Regions from separate parts of the Homo sapiens genome. Here region 1 is linked to region 2. The links are contacts of gene promoters, found by promoter capture Hi-C in blood cells and fetal thymus (Javierre and others, 2016). All regions are on one chromosome and are shown on one strand. The core of a region is centred on a gene start or on the middle of the fragment in contact, and the rest is flanking DNA. Distances in the headings are between cores, read along the strand shown. Region 1 overlaps ARHGEF4 (Rho guanine nucleotide exchange factor 4). Region 2 holds the start of AMER3 (APC membrane recruitment protein 3).

Region 1 (6,355 bases), core at 2,447-4,946, 250 kb after region 2:
GGGAAGGGTTTTTCTTTTTTTAACTACCATTTTAATTTCTTAAGTCTTTGTTCACTCAGATTTTCTCTTATGCCAATTTTACCATTATGTGTACATTTTTAGGAGTTGACGTATTTTATCTAGGTTTTCAGATTTAGAATTGAATGAGAAACTGAAGCAAGCCACAGTCATAATTCAAGGGAAATGTATAAACCTTAAAATATATAAGCTTTAAAATAAGTAGAGAAAGGCAAAGCCAAAAAAAAGCCTATTATAAAGGAAAAGATTAATAAATTTGATAACATTAAAATGTAAACCTGTGCTTCAAAAAATTTTCCAAACAGTGTGCCTTCTCACAGACTGGGGAGTAGTGGCGGACTTAGTAGACTAAGTCACAGACTAGGAAATATATTTAAAATATCTTACGAGTGACAAAGGATTGATGTAAAGAACATATTAAGAACTGAAGATGGGGCCAGGCACAGTGGCTCACACCTGTGATCCCAGCACTTTGGGAGGCTGAGGCGGTGGCTCACTTGGGGTCAGGAGTATGAGACCAGCCTTGCCAACATGACGAAACCCCATCTCTACAAAAATACAAACTTTAGCCGGGCGTGGCAGTGCATGCCTGTAATCCCAGCTACTCGGGAGGCTGAGGCAAGAGAATATCTTGAACCTAGGAGGCGGAAGTTGCAGTGAGCTGAGATTGCACCACTGCACTCCAGCCTGGGCGACAGAGTGAGACTGTGTCTCAAAAAAAAAAAAAAAAAAAAAAAAAACAGAAAGAGCTGAAGATGGATAACGGGAAGACGGATAACATAACACTGGGCATGTGATGCAAATGGGCAGTTCTTAGAAGAGGAACCTGAATAATCAATGAATATGTGAACAAATGTTCAACCTAACTGCCAATCGAGAAGCAACAAGAGAAACCATTCCATACCCTTCACATTGGCAGATGCGTTGTGTGAATGCCAAGTATTGGTGAGGATGTACAGGGTCCAGAATTCTTATAAATGGTGAGTAAATGTAAATTTATACAGATACTTCAGAGGTTAGTTTGGCAGTATCTAGTAAAGTCGAACATGATTCTCTATGTATCCTAGATAAACTCTTCCATGTATGCATAGCAGGCAGCTGTGTGCTGAGGCTTCGAGGTTATACCCAAGAAACATGGAAACGGCAGACTTCAGAAGGATACATGTAGGACGATCATATTTGTGTAAATCTACAAGACACAAATAATAGTACATAACAGTACACCTTAGGATATGTGCATATTTAGTAAGATTATAGAAAATGCATGAGAATAGTACAGAACAATTTAAGCACAGAGATTTGCCTCTGGAGAGGAAGCTAGGGAGGTAACATGAGGGGCAAGGCTTCAGCTCCACTGGTAATATTTTGGGAGATAAGCAATAAATATGCCAAAATGCTGGCATTTGTTTAATCTCTGGGATGGCTACGTCGGAATACTTTCTTTTCTATTTTCTGTACTTTTTTGTATGTTTAGTTTACGTTTATTGAACAAATACTTACTGAGAATCTACTGGCTGCAGGGCTCTGTTCTGGATGCTTGGAGTACAGTGGTAAACAAGGTGCACGCAATGCCCTGTCTTCATGGAGCTTGCCGACTTTAAAATGTTTAAAAATTTAAAAGCTTTAATGCTCAAAATAATTTTTGAAAAGATTAATATGTAGCTAATCTCTTTACTCCTGGAATTAGACACTTAAAAAGCTGTGAGGGGCCGGGCGCGGTGGCTCATGCCTGTAATCCCAGCACTTTGGGAGGCCGAGGCAGGCAGATCACGAGGTCAGGAGATCGAGACCATCCTGGCTAACACGGTGAAACCCCATCTACTAAAAATACAAAAAAATTAGCTGGGCGTAGTGGCTCACGCCTGTAATTCCAGCACTTTGGGAGGCCGAGGCGGGCGGATCACGAGGTCAGGAGATCGAGACCGTCCTGGCTAACACAGTGAAACCCCATCTCTACTAAAAATACAAAAAATTAGCTGGGCGTGTTGGCAGGCACCTGTAGTCCTAGCTACTTCAGAGGCTGAAGCAGGAGAATGTCGTGAACCCGGGAGGCGGAGCTTGCAGTGAGCCGAGATCGCACCACTGCACTCCAGCCTGGGCGACAGAGCGAGACTCCGTCTCAAAAAAAAAAAAAAAAAAAAAAAAAAAAAAAAGGGTTGTGGGGGCTGGGGGTGAAGGAGAGCTCACTGCTCTTTGTAAAATCAGCCTCCGCTGCTGGAACGGACAGTCTGAATGAACTGTTGGTCGGCTTCCTATATTAGTTTTTCAACATTGTTGGTTTACACTTCTGAGTTCATAGAATGAGCACCCTAGCCCTATGGTTTTGTAAGTAGTCACCTAAAGGGAACTGTTTTAATGAATAAACAGGGATGGCTTTTAATTACTACATTTGCTGAATAGATATTTTTGCACCCCAACTTTGTGCAAGACACTAGGATAGGGACTGTTCGGACAAGAGGGCAACAAGCAAAGATCCCTGCTCTGGGAGGTCCCGCAGTGCCTCTGGTATGAACAGCGTTAGTAACAGTGACCTTGACGATGGGGCATTCGCTGTTCTACCTCAGGCATCAACTCTCTAAAGCACTGAGCCATGACGAGGCCAGGGGAATGGAGGACCATCCCGCACGCACTCTGTACCCAGAGGTCCAGGTCATGCCGTAAGACACACCCCCTCTGCACCTCAGTTCCTGATTTATAAAACAATGGCCATTCCTGTTCCACACTGTTTCTGTATGAAGTGAAATGATCTACATGAATGCTCCTGGCACATGATGACCACTCAGTGGATTCCAGTTTCTTCCTTCTTGATCGTGACACGCATCTCTCGTCATTTCTGCAGTATTCCCTGAAGCTTCTTTAAGCAGAGTTCTGGCCAAGGCAGAGACCCTTAGTAAGCACCAGTTGATGGGAAGGCACAATTCACTGGGTCCCTAGATGCACCAGGCTGAGTTGCCTGTGGACAGGTGGGTGAAAATCTGGAAGCTTCTCTGTCCATACTTGCCTGTCAATGAGGAAGAAGATGGCCCCGCAGTACGTGAGGTCAGCCTGAGTGACACTCCTGTTAAGATAGGGATAATCCTTTCTGATCTCTCATTTAGTCTGCCTTGCTTTGGATAGTATGTGATGGCAGTTGCTAGACCGAGCCTGAAATGCAGAAATGCCAGGGCAAAGATGACATCTGACAACATAGCCTAGATATGTCAGTCAGCTAATGACTTCAGATCAGTCTTCTGGGAAGTAGGCTTTTCTGAAATCGATGGGCTTAATTAGAAAGAACTTAACTAGGGTAACTGGGTAATAACGACCTGGAAATATTTATACAGGGACCCTTCACAAGTTTTCACCGAAACAGGACTTTTAAAAAAATCCTAAGCCTTCAGCAGCCAAAGGAGCATCTTTGGTTGGGAGAGATGGGGATAGGAGGATCTTCACTCCCTACATAGAGCCCCTGCACACCCTGGGGACACCAGACCCACCTCTGGGAAAGATAAGAAAGGGAGGAAGCTGGGCCAGTGTGGTGCAGGCCTTCCATATGCCTATGGAATCAAGGAATCTCTGTTAGTTGGTGTGTTTTGTTTTGTTTTGGGGTTTTTTTGAGACGGAGTCTCACTCTGTCGCTCGGGCTGGAGTGCAATGGCACGATCTCGACTCACTGCAAGCTCCACCTCCAGGGTTCATGCCATTCTCCTGCCTCAGCTTCCCGAGTAGCTGGGACTACAGGCCCCCGCCACCATGCTTGTCTAATTTTTTGTATTTTTAGTAGAGACGGGGTTTAACCGTGTTAGCCAGGATGGTCTCAATCACCTGACTTCATGATCCCCCTGCCTTGGCCTCCCAAAGTGCTGGGATTACAGGCGTGAGCCACCGCACCCAGCCCTCTCTGTTTTTTAAACCACATTCGGAAGTATTTCACTCCCTAATTGTCTTTTCCTCAAAGTAAGGAGACAGCCACTGGGAGGTGAATGGGTGGCCAAGCCCACTTGGTGGCAGAGTGCGGCCCTCCTTGTCACACAGCCCGGCCTCGATGGTCCTTCCAGGCCTGACCCGGCCGTGAGCGCCTGCCATCCTCAGCCCTCTTTCTAGGGTGTGGTGTCTCTGTCCCACCCCGGCCTCACAGAACTCAGGTCCAGATCTCTGTGAATGATGGAGAGGATGAAGAATAGTCTGCCCTGGGGACACAACACACTTTGGCTGAACCCTTCTGGCAACCACATCTCTGCTGTTTTATTTACTCCAGTGTCTGGTGTGGGCAAATAGCTTGCAGGTGGCTTTGTGGCTGCCCCATGGCAGGTACAGGAGCAACCCCATTCCCTCCTCCAAAGTTTGGTTTGGATGTGGAGAAGGATAACACCACACACACACCAGGAGGGTGGGGAAAGCTTGTGGTTGGTGCCCTGGGGCTTTCTGTGAGAGCAGGGCAGACTGCAGCCCAGCTGGAACAGCTGCAGCAAAGGGGGCCCTGGGTGGCTGAGTATGGCTGAGGGCTGTATGGTGGTGAGGAGGGAGCCAGGGTGAGAGTCCTGCCACCCCTCGCCTGGGGTTTGCATTGATTTTGCAGTTATGGGGCAAGAGAGGAAGAGGATGGGGCTGGAAGCCATCCGCAGTCAGCAGTGGGCTGATATCTGTCACGCTCTGGGGGCAGAGCTGACTTGACTGTGTCCTGTGAGGGACACAGCAGCAGCCTGAAGAGGGCTCGGCCTCATTCCTCACATCCAGGTAGAAATCGGGAAGTGCAGCCAGGGTAAGCCCTCCCCGGTGAGCTACCGATGACATGGGGTGTCCCACACAGGGCTGCCCTCCAGCAGCAGGGCCCTCCCACAACAGCCACTCCCTGCCGTCCTCAGGCTCCCATGGGGCTCCAAGTCCCAGCTTTCTCCTGACATGGGAGACTGCCCAGTCCTGTTCTGTGTTGAAGTGCGCCTCTGGGGGTCATTTACTTGCATCTGAGATCTGTGAGTGAGATTTCTATATGTTAAGAAAAGCTGGGACCCTGGAGATGCTTCCCAGGCTGCCCTAGTCTTCCCAGTCCCAGGGGCTTGGCCACGTACCCCGCAGCGTGCAGAAGATGCAGGGGAGCTGGCCTGTGTCCTCAGGTGGGAGGGGAGGGGCGGGAGTGCCCAGCGCCCCAGGGGCCAGGCTGTGTGGGCACTGGGGGGAGATGCGCCGTGGACCACAGGGACCCGTGGTGCTGGGCAGCTTCCCGGCAAAAGGTCTGGAAGGTGTGTCTGTAGTAGACAGAATTCTCAGGATGCTCCCAAAACCTCTGCCCACTGGTTAGCCAGACACAAATCTAGGAACTTCCTGCAAGGGACTTTGCAGATAGGACTGAGGTTGCTAATGAGCTGACCTTAACATAGGGAGATAGTTCTGGATTATCTGGGTAGGTCCAGCATAATCATATGAGCCCTTAAAAGCAGCCGAAGAAGCCAGGAGAGGAGCTAAGAGAGATTGAAAGAGAAGGAACTCAACCCACCATTGTGGGGAGGAGACCTGTTCCCCGCCATTGGTCATCCTTGGAAGATGGTAATAGCCCCTGGGCATCACAAGGCAATTCAGCCACCCAGGGACCTCAGTCCGACAGCACTCTGGAACTACATCTGCCTGTAATCTGAATGAGACTGCGAGTTGATTCAGCCGCAGAGCCTCCAGAAAGGGACACAGCCGCGATGACACCTTAATTTAGGCTCTCTGTGACTCCAAGCAGAGAACCCACTGAGCCACACTGTGCCCAGCCCTTTGACCTACAGAAACAGATAACAAATGTATGTGCTGTTAAGCCTCTAAATGCAGGGTAATTTGTTTCAGCAGCAATAGGAAAATAATACATGCATCCCTGCCCGTGGGAGTCACATGGCCCAGGGCCTTAGCAGCGGCCCAGGAGCTGGCTGGCTGTCAGTCACTGAGAAGATGATGAGGGACTGTCAGCCATTAGGGAATGCCATCCAGGAGCCGTTTGTCTACTATTCACTAGTTAGGGAATGGGGAGCTAATTTGCATTTTAATGCTAGATTCTCACCATTTTCCCAAACAGGAAATCCTTCCAGAGTAGAATCTTAGCACTTACCTAGGCATCTTTTATGCTTTTGGGGTTCTGTGCCCTATCCCTCTGGTCTTGCCTGGACTGGGGAGTGGGACTGTTAAGCAAAGAGCAGATTAGGTGAGGCCACCCACCAAAGTACCAACACCTAGGTGCGGGGAGTTGGTCTGAAGAGAGGCTGAAAGACCAAGTCCAAGTCATGAAGGGAAGCAAAAGGCCAAGTCATTGGCTAAGTCCGAAGGATAAAATGGGGCCAAAAGTAGGCCAGGTGGTCCTGCTGAACACAGTTGGGTACTTGTA
Region 2 (5,623 bases), core at 1,949-4,448:
AAACTGGACTCTTACCTTCTGCCATATACAAAAATTAACTAAAAATTGATCGAAGAGCTAAAAGTATAAAACTTTTACAAGAAAACCTAGAAAATCTTTGTGACATTGGATTTTGCAATGATTTATTTGATATGACACCAAAAGTTCAAGAAATAATACACAAAATAAATAACCTGGACTTTATCAAAATTAATGAAAACCACTCATCAAGAGTGACAAGGCAATCCACAGAATGAGAAAAAATATTTGCAAATCATCTACTGGGTAGGGGATTAACATCCAGAATATATAAACAACTCCTAGAACTCAACAATAAAGACAAACAATCTAATTAAAAATGGAGAAAGGACTTGAATAGATACTTCTCCAAAGAATATATACAAATGGCCAATAAGCATATGAAAAGATGCTCAATATCACTAATCATTAGGAAAATACAAATCAAAACCACAATGATATACGACTTCACAGCCATCCTAATGGATGGCTACTATTTATAAACAAATAACAAACAAACAAAAACACACAGAAAACAACATGTTGGCGAGGATATGGAAAAATGCTCTACATTGCTGGTGGGATGTCAAATTGTACACAGTGGAGAACAGTATGATAGTTCCTCAGAAAATTAAACATAGAAACCATTATGACTCCAATATGGCACTTCTGTGGTTTATATTCCAAAGAACCAAAAGCAGGAACCTAAACAGGTATTTGTACATTGCTGCTTATAATAGCATTATTCACAATAGCCAAAGGTGGTGCAACCCAAACGGTCCATTGACAGATGAATGGATAAACAAAATGTGGTCTCTACACACAATGGAATAATATCCACTCTTAAAAAGGAAGGATATTCTGATACATGCTGCAACACGGATACACCCTCAAAACATTATGCTAAGTGAAATAAGCCAGCCACAAAAAGACAGATACTGTATGATTCCACTTCTATGAGGTACCTAGAGTGGTCAAAATCAGAGAAAAGTAGAATAGTGGTTCCCAGCAGCTACGGGGAGAGGAGAATGGAGTTTTAGTGCTTAATGGGTACAGAATTTCTGTTGGGGTCAGGAACGTGTTTTGGCAATAGACTGTGGTGATGGTTGCACAACAGTGTGAGTGTAAATGCCACTGAACTGTACACTTAAAAAGGGGTAAATGGTAAATTTCATATTATGTATATTTTACCACAATAAAGAAAAAGAAACCGGCCGGGCGTGGTGGCTCACGCCTGTAATCCCAGCACTTTGGGAGGCGAGGAGGGCAGATCACCTGAGATTGGGAGTTTGAGGCCAGCCTGACCAACATGGAGAAACCCTGTCTTTACTAAAAATACAAAATTAGCCAGGCGTGGTGCTGCATGCCTGTAATCCCAGCTACTCAGGAGGCTGAGGCAGGAGAATCACTTGAACCCGGGAGGTGGAGGTTGCAGTGAGCCAAGATCACACCATTGAACTCCAGCCTGGGCAAGAAGAGTGAAACTCCATCTCAAAAAATAAGATAAAAATTTTTTTAAGAAAAAGAAACCAACTGTTCACTGTTTGGAAATATGAAATAAAAAAGTTTTTAAATATTGAAAATTTTAAAAGAAAAAGAAACAGCTCAAAGCAGTAGGTCTGATGGTACCCCACAAATGCAGCTGACGTGACTGGCACAGTGGATGGCCGACTCATTTGTGCCCACAGTCAACTCTTTGGCCTGCCAAGAAAGCAAGGGGTGGTGTGGCCAGAAGGTCTGAGACCCTGGGGACAACCAAGTGACCAGAAAGCTAGTTCCAGGAAAGAAAAGGTTTACAGCCACTGCTCAAAAACACAGATGAGAAATCTAAGTCAGTGTTTTGTGTGTGTTTTTTTGTTTGTTTTTTTTTTTTTTTTGAGACAGAGTCTCGCTCTGTCACCCAGGCTGGAGTGCAGTGGCACAATCTCGGCTCACTGCAAGCTCCACCTCCTGGGTTCACGCCATTCTCCTGCCTCAGCCTCCTGAGTAGCTGGGACTACAGGCGCCCACCACCATGCCTGGCTAATTTTTTTTGTACTTTTAGTAGAGAGGGGGTTTTGCCATGTTAGCCAGGATGGTCTTGATCTCCTGACCTTGTGATCCGCCCGTCTGGACCTCCCAAAGTGCTGGGATTACAGGCGTGTAAGTCAGTGTATTGTAAAAATAAAATGTAAGTTCACATTAGAATAATATTTAAGAAAAATCATTCAGTGGTATCTGAACTGGGTAGCCTAGTGTAAAAGATTTTTCCAGGAGTCCCTGGGGAAGACCTGATCCCACATCTTGGGGAAATAAAAAATTTGAAATATATATTTTCATGTTACCCAAAAGTTAGGGGTGTTTGAAAACTGTCTGAAATGACAAAGTAGAAGGGTTGGAACAGTTTGCAGTGGCCGAACGATGACCATGTGAGCATCGAAAATGAGCAATTGTCACTCACTGGAAGAAGCTGAATCTGTAATTATCCTCACAATTACATGATTTTATAAGACACATTAAAAAATCCTTAAATGCAAAAGCGGGGAGAGCCTAATAAGGAAGGCTAATGCTTACTAATTTTAACAAGAGGAGGACTGTGGGGTCTGCGGGAGTCCTACCCCTGACTTGGGGTGTATGTGGCAACGAGGCAGAAACTGCCTTCTGTCCTACCTAAGAGAAAGACAGGGAACTCCCACAGCCAGGATCTGCCAAAAAAGGTCAAGACTACCAGCAACATGGGCGAGGGGGCCTCTGGGGTCACGTTGAGTTAGTCGCTGCATAGAAAGAGGGCTCAAATCTAAAAAATGCAAGAGGGTAGGTCACCCAAGGGTGGGGAAGGTCTTGGCTGGAGGATGAAGGGGCCTCTTGTCTCTGGGGCGAGGCGATGTCAAGGGGAATGACAAACCAAACCAGTCCAAAGCAAGGGGACTCTGTGTCCTGGGTTCTCAGACAAGGTGACCGGGAGGGAGCCCACCAAGCTCAGGGAAAGGCCTGGCCTCCGTCATCCACCTGAGCTCTGCCTTCCCTTCAGCCTTAGCCTCAGCGTGGACCCGGGACTCCTGCATCCTCCCGTCCTGCCCCGCCTGGGCACACCACGGCCGAGAGCCTCCTGTTGGCATCAGCCTCTCCCCAGCACCGACTGTGCGCTCCCGCTCCCCCCTCCTCCCCACAACCCCGCCCCACACTACTGGCACTGCTGCCTGAGCCTTCCTGGAGTTACTTAATCCACCCCAGCCCCAGGCACTGAACCACGCGTGCAGACCCCTCGTCCTCAGTTCTGCGGAGACAGAGTCCCCACAGCATTTCTGCTCCTCCCTCAAGACTGCGGCAGAGCACAGCACCAGTAGACCCCACACAGTGAGTACCTGTAGGGCAAGTGCCTCTTTCGTTCTCTTAATAATAGAGTCAGGTCCCTTCTCCAAGGGAAGACCCTGCCTTGCAGCCCCAGCCTGGCCTGCCCCTTCTTGCAGGCCCGCTCCGAACCCTGGGTAAGACTCGTGACGAGGCTCCGGGTGGCCGAGCCCTTCCGAGAGTGCTGCGGTCGGCAGGGCTGGGCTGGCTCTCTGGGCTGAGGGGGAGGGGCTCCCACACCTGTGCGCTCCCGGAAGAGGGGACAGCGGCGGGGGCGCCGTGCGCACGGGGGCGAGGGGAGACGACTGCACCTGAGGGAGGCGCAGCCGCAACCGGGTGGGAGGCAGAGACACCCAGAAACAGAGACGGGGCGATACGAACAGACAAAGCCGGCTCGAGCGCGGCCCGAGCGGCGGCGCAGGGAGGCGGCAGCCTGGCGGAGCAGCCCCCACCGCGGCCGGCGCGCCCCCTCGCCACCCCTGCGCGCCAGCGCCGGCCCGCCCCTCCCGCTGGCCTCTGGCGGCTTAACCCTCGCCTGCCCGACCCCGCGGGGCCCCTGGAGCCGCGGTGGGTGGGTGCGGGCGCCGGGCCTCCCCCTCCCGGCCGCGGCGCGCGGCGCCGGGAGCTGACCGTGGTGCTGAGCGCGGCTCGCGCTCCGACGCGGTGCCCGAGCCTGTCGCGGCCGCGCCCTGCTGCACTGCGGGCCCCCAGCGGTAAGTCGCCAAGGCCCCGAGAGGCTGCGTTGGTCCTGCCCCGCGGATGTGGACCCCCGGGGAGGGCAAGGATTGGGGAATTTGGTGCATTCTCTGGCGCGATGGACGGGCTGAGGGCAGGAAGCAGGGTCGACACCCTCCACCCAGCGGTTCCCGGCGCAGTCAGGGGCCTGGGAGCGGTGACCCTTTTAGGTCTGGGCTAGGGAAGCGGAGAAACCCTCCGCCGGCGGATGCAGGAGCTGAGGGAGAGCCAATATCGCTGTGAGGCCCATCTCCTTGCCCCTGGGCAGGCCAGGACCGCCCAGAGGCGCCCTCCAAGGAGGTGGGCCAGGACCTTCCCTCCCCAGAGGGCCCTTTGTCTCCCCAGTGTGGGGGTTGGGTGGCTTGGTGGTGCTCTCACCGCAGATTCTATTTCTGTTTTATTCCCCATTCCCACCCCCACCCCAGAGCACGGTCGCTTTCCCTCCGCACAGTGGCCCTCACTCCAGCCCTCCCATGACAAGGCAGCCTACTACTGAGAACGCTATTGCCCCATAGCTCTACCGCCAGCCCAGTTTCCAGAGGTCCCTGGGCCTGCGCTTTTTTATCACCATACACTCCTTTGTATCACACTGCTGTGACTTTCCTGCATACCGGGGAAGGCATAGAAAATACCAAAACTATTAGCCAAACGTTTTTTTGTCTCAAGGCGTTTCTGTGGCATGTGTATTCCTCCAGGGTTTTTATTTTGCTCCATGAAATCAAACACCGGGACACTTTCAGGTTAAGAAAGGAAAAAAAAAGCCACGGAATTACCTTCTCAAAGGAAAAAGAAAAAGCTGGGCAGCTAAGCCTGAGTTGGTCATGTAGAAAAGCAACCAGTAGAATAACTTCATTTGCCCAATTTGCAATAAATCCATGTCTGTGTGTGCCGTGTAAAACACTGTGATGGGAGGTGCACAGACAGAGGAGTCTCTGCCACCACCTTCTCTCCCCTAAACCCTGCTTGGGCTCCTAACTCGCCTCTGTGTCTCCGCTGTCCATTTTCACCTGCATCTTTGAAAGTGAGAATTGGCCCGTCACTTGCCCTGGAAGGTTGGCTCCCTGTGGCTTGCAGATAAAAGCACGGCCCTCGCTGAGACCTCAGGCCGGGTGTGGTGTGTACAGCCCATCTCCAGGCCTCATCCCTCTGGCTTGCTGCTCTGGTCACTTGAGCTGCTTTCAGATCCTTAAATATTCTACTTCTCTTGCTCCTCGGGGCCTTTCTGAAGGGTGTTCTCTCTGCCTGGAATATGTGTCCAATGTCTTTTGCCTGGCTGTCCTCTTCTGTCTTTTAAGTTTGGTTTAAATATCACATCCCTGTAACAGAATTAATTAAGTAAATACATTGTGTGGTCCCTGTTCCCATGGAACTTGCAAGTTCGTCTTAGAGATGAAAGACTCAGCCCAGGGTCCTGGTGTCAATGCTGTCTTAAAAAATGATGCACATAGGCCGGGAGCGGTGGCTTACGCCTGTAATCCTGGTACTTTGGGAGGCCTAGGTGGGAGGATCACAAGGTCAAGAGATCAAGACCATCCTGGCTAACACGGTGAAACCCCGTCTC

The links. The method cuts DNA at HindIII sites, captures the fragments that hold promoters and counts their contacts. A CHiCAGO score of 5 or more calls a contact.
Region 1: a fragment that was not itself captured here is called in contact with the fragment with the promoter of AMER3 in region 2 in 1 of 17 cell types (erythroblasts); the score reaches 5.6 in erythroblasts.

The regions. Positions count from the first base shown.
Region 1 is chr2:131,000,571-131,006,925 of GRCh38, forward strand. The region is part of intron 4 of ARHGEF4 (Rho guanine nucleotide exchange factor 4); the gene reads left to right. Among named protein-coding and RNA genes, the nearest start is that of SMIM39, 31 kb to the right of the region's middle. The HindIII fragment of the contact is 1,397 bases long and covers 2,999-4,395 here.
Region 2 is chr2:130,752,342-130,757,964 of GRCh38, forward strand. AMER3 (APC membrane recruitment protein 3) reads left to right here and starts at 3,199. Exons shown (of 2, transcript NM_152698.3): 1 at 3,199-3,333. LOC124907890 (a long non-coding RNA gene) reads right to left here and starts at 3,541. Exons shown (of 2, transcript XR_007087239.1): 1 at 3,342-3,541. RefSeq lists enhancers at 2,975-3,474, 4,353-4,856. The HindIII fragment of the contact is 12,260 bases long and covers 1-5,623 here.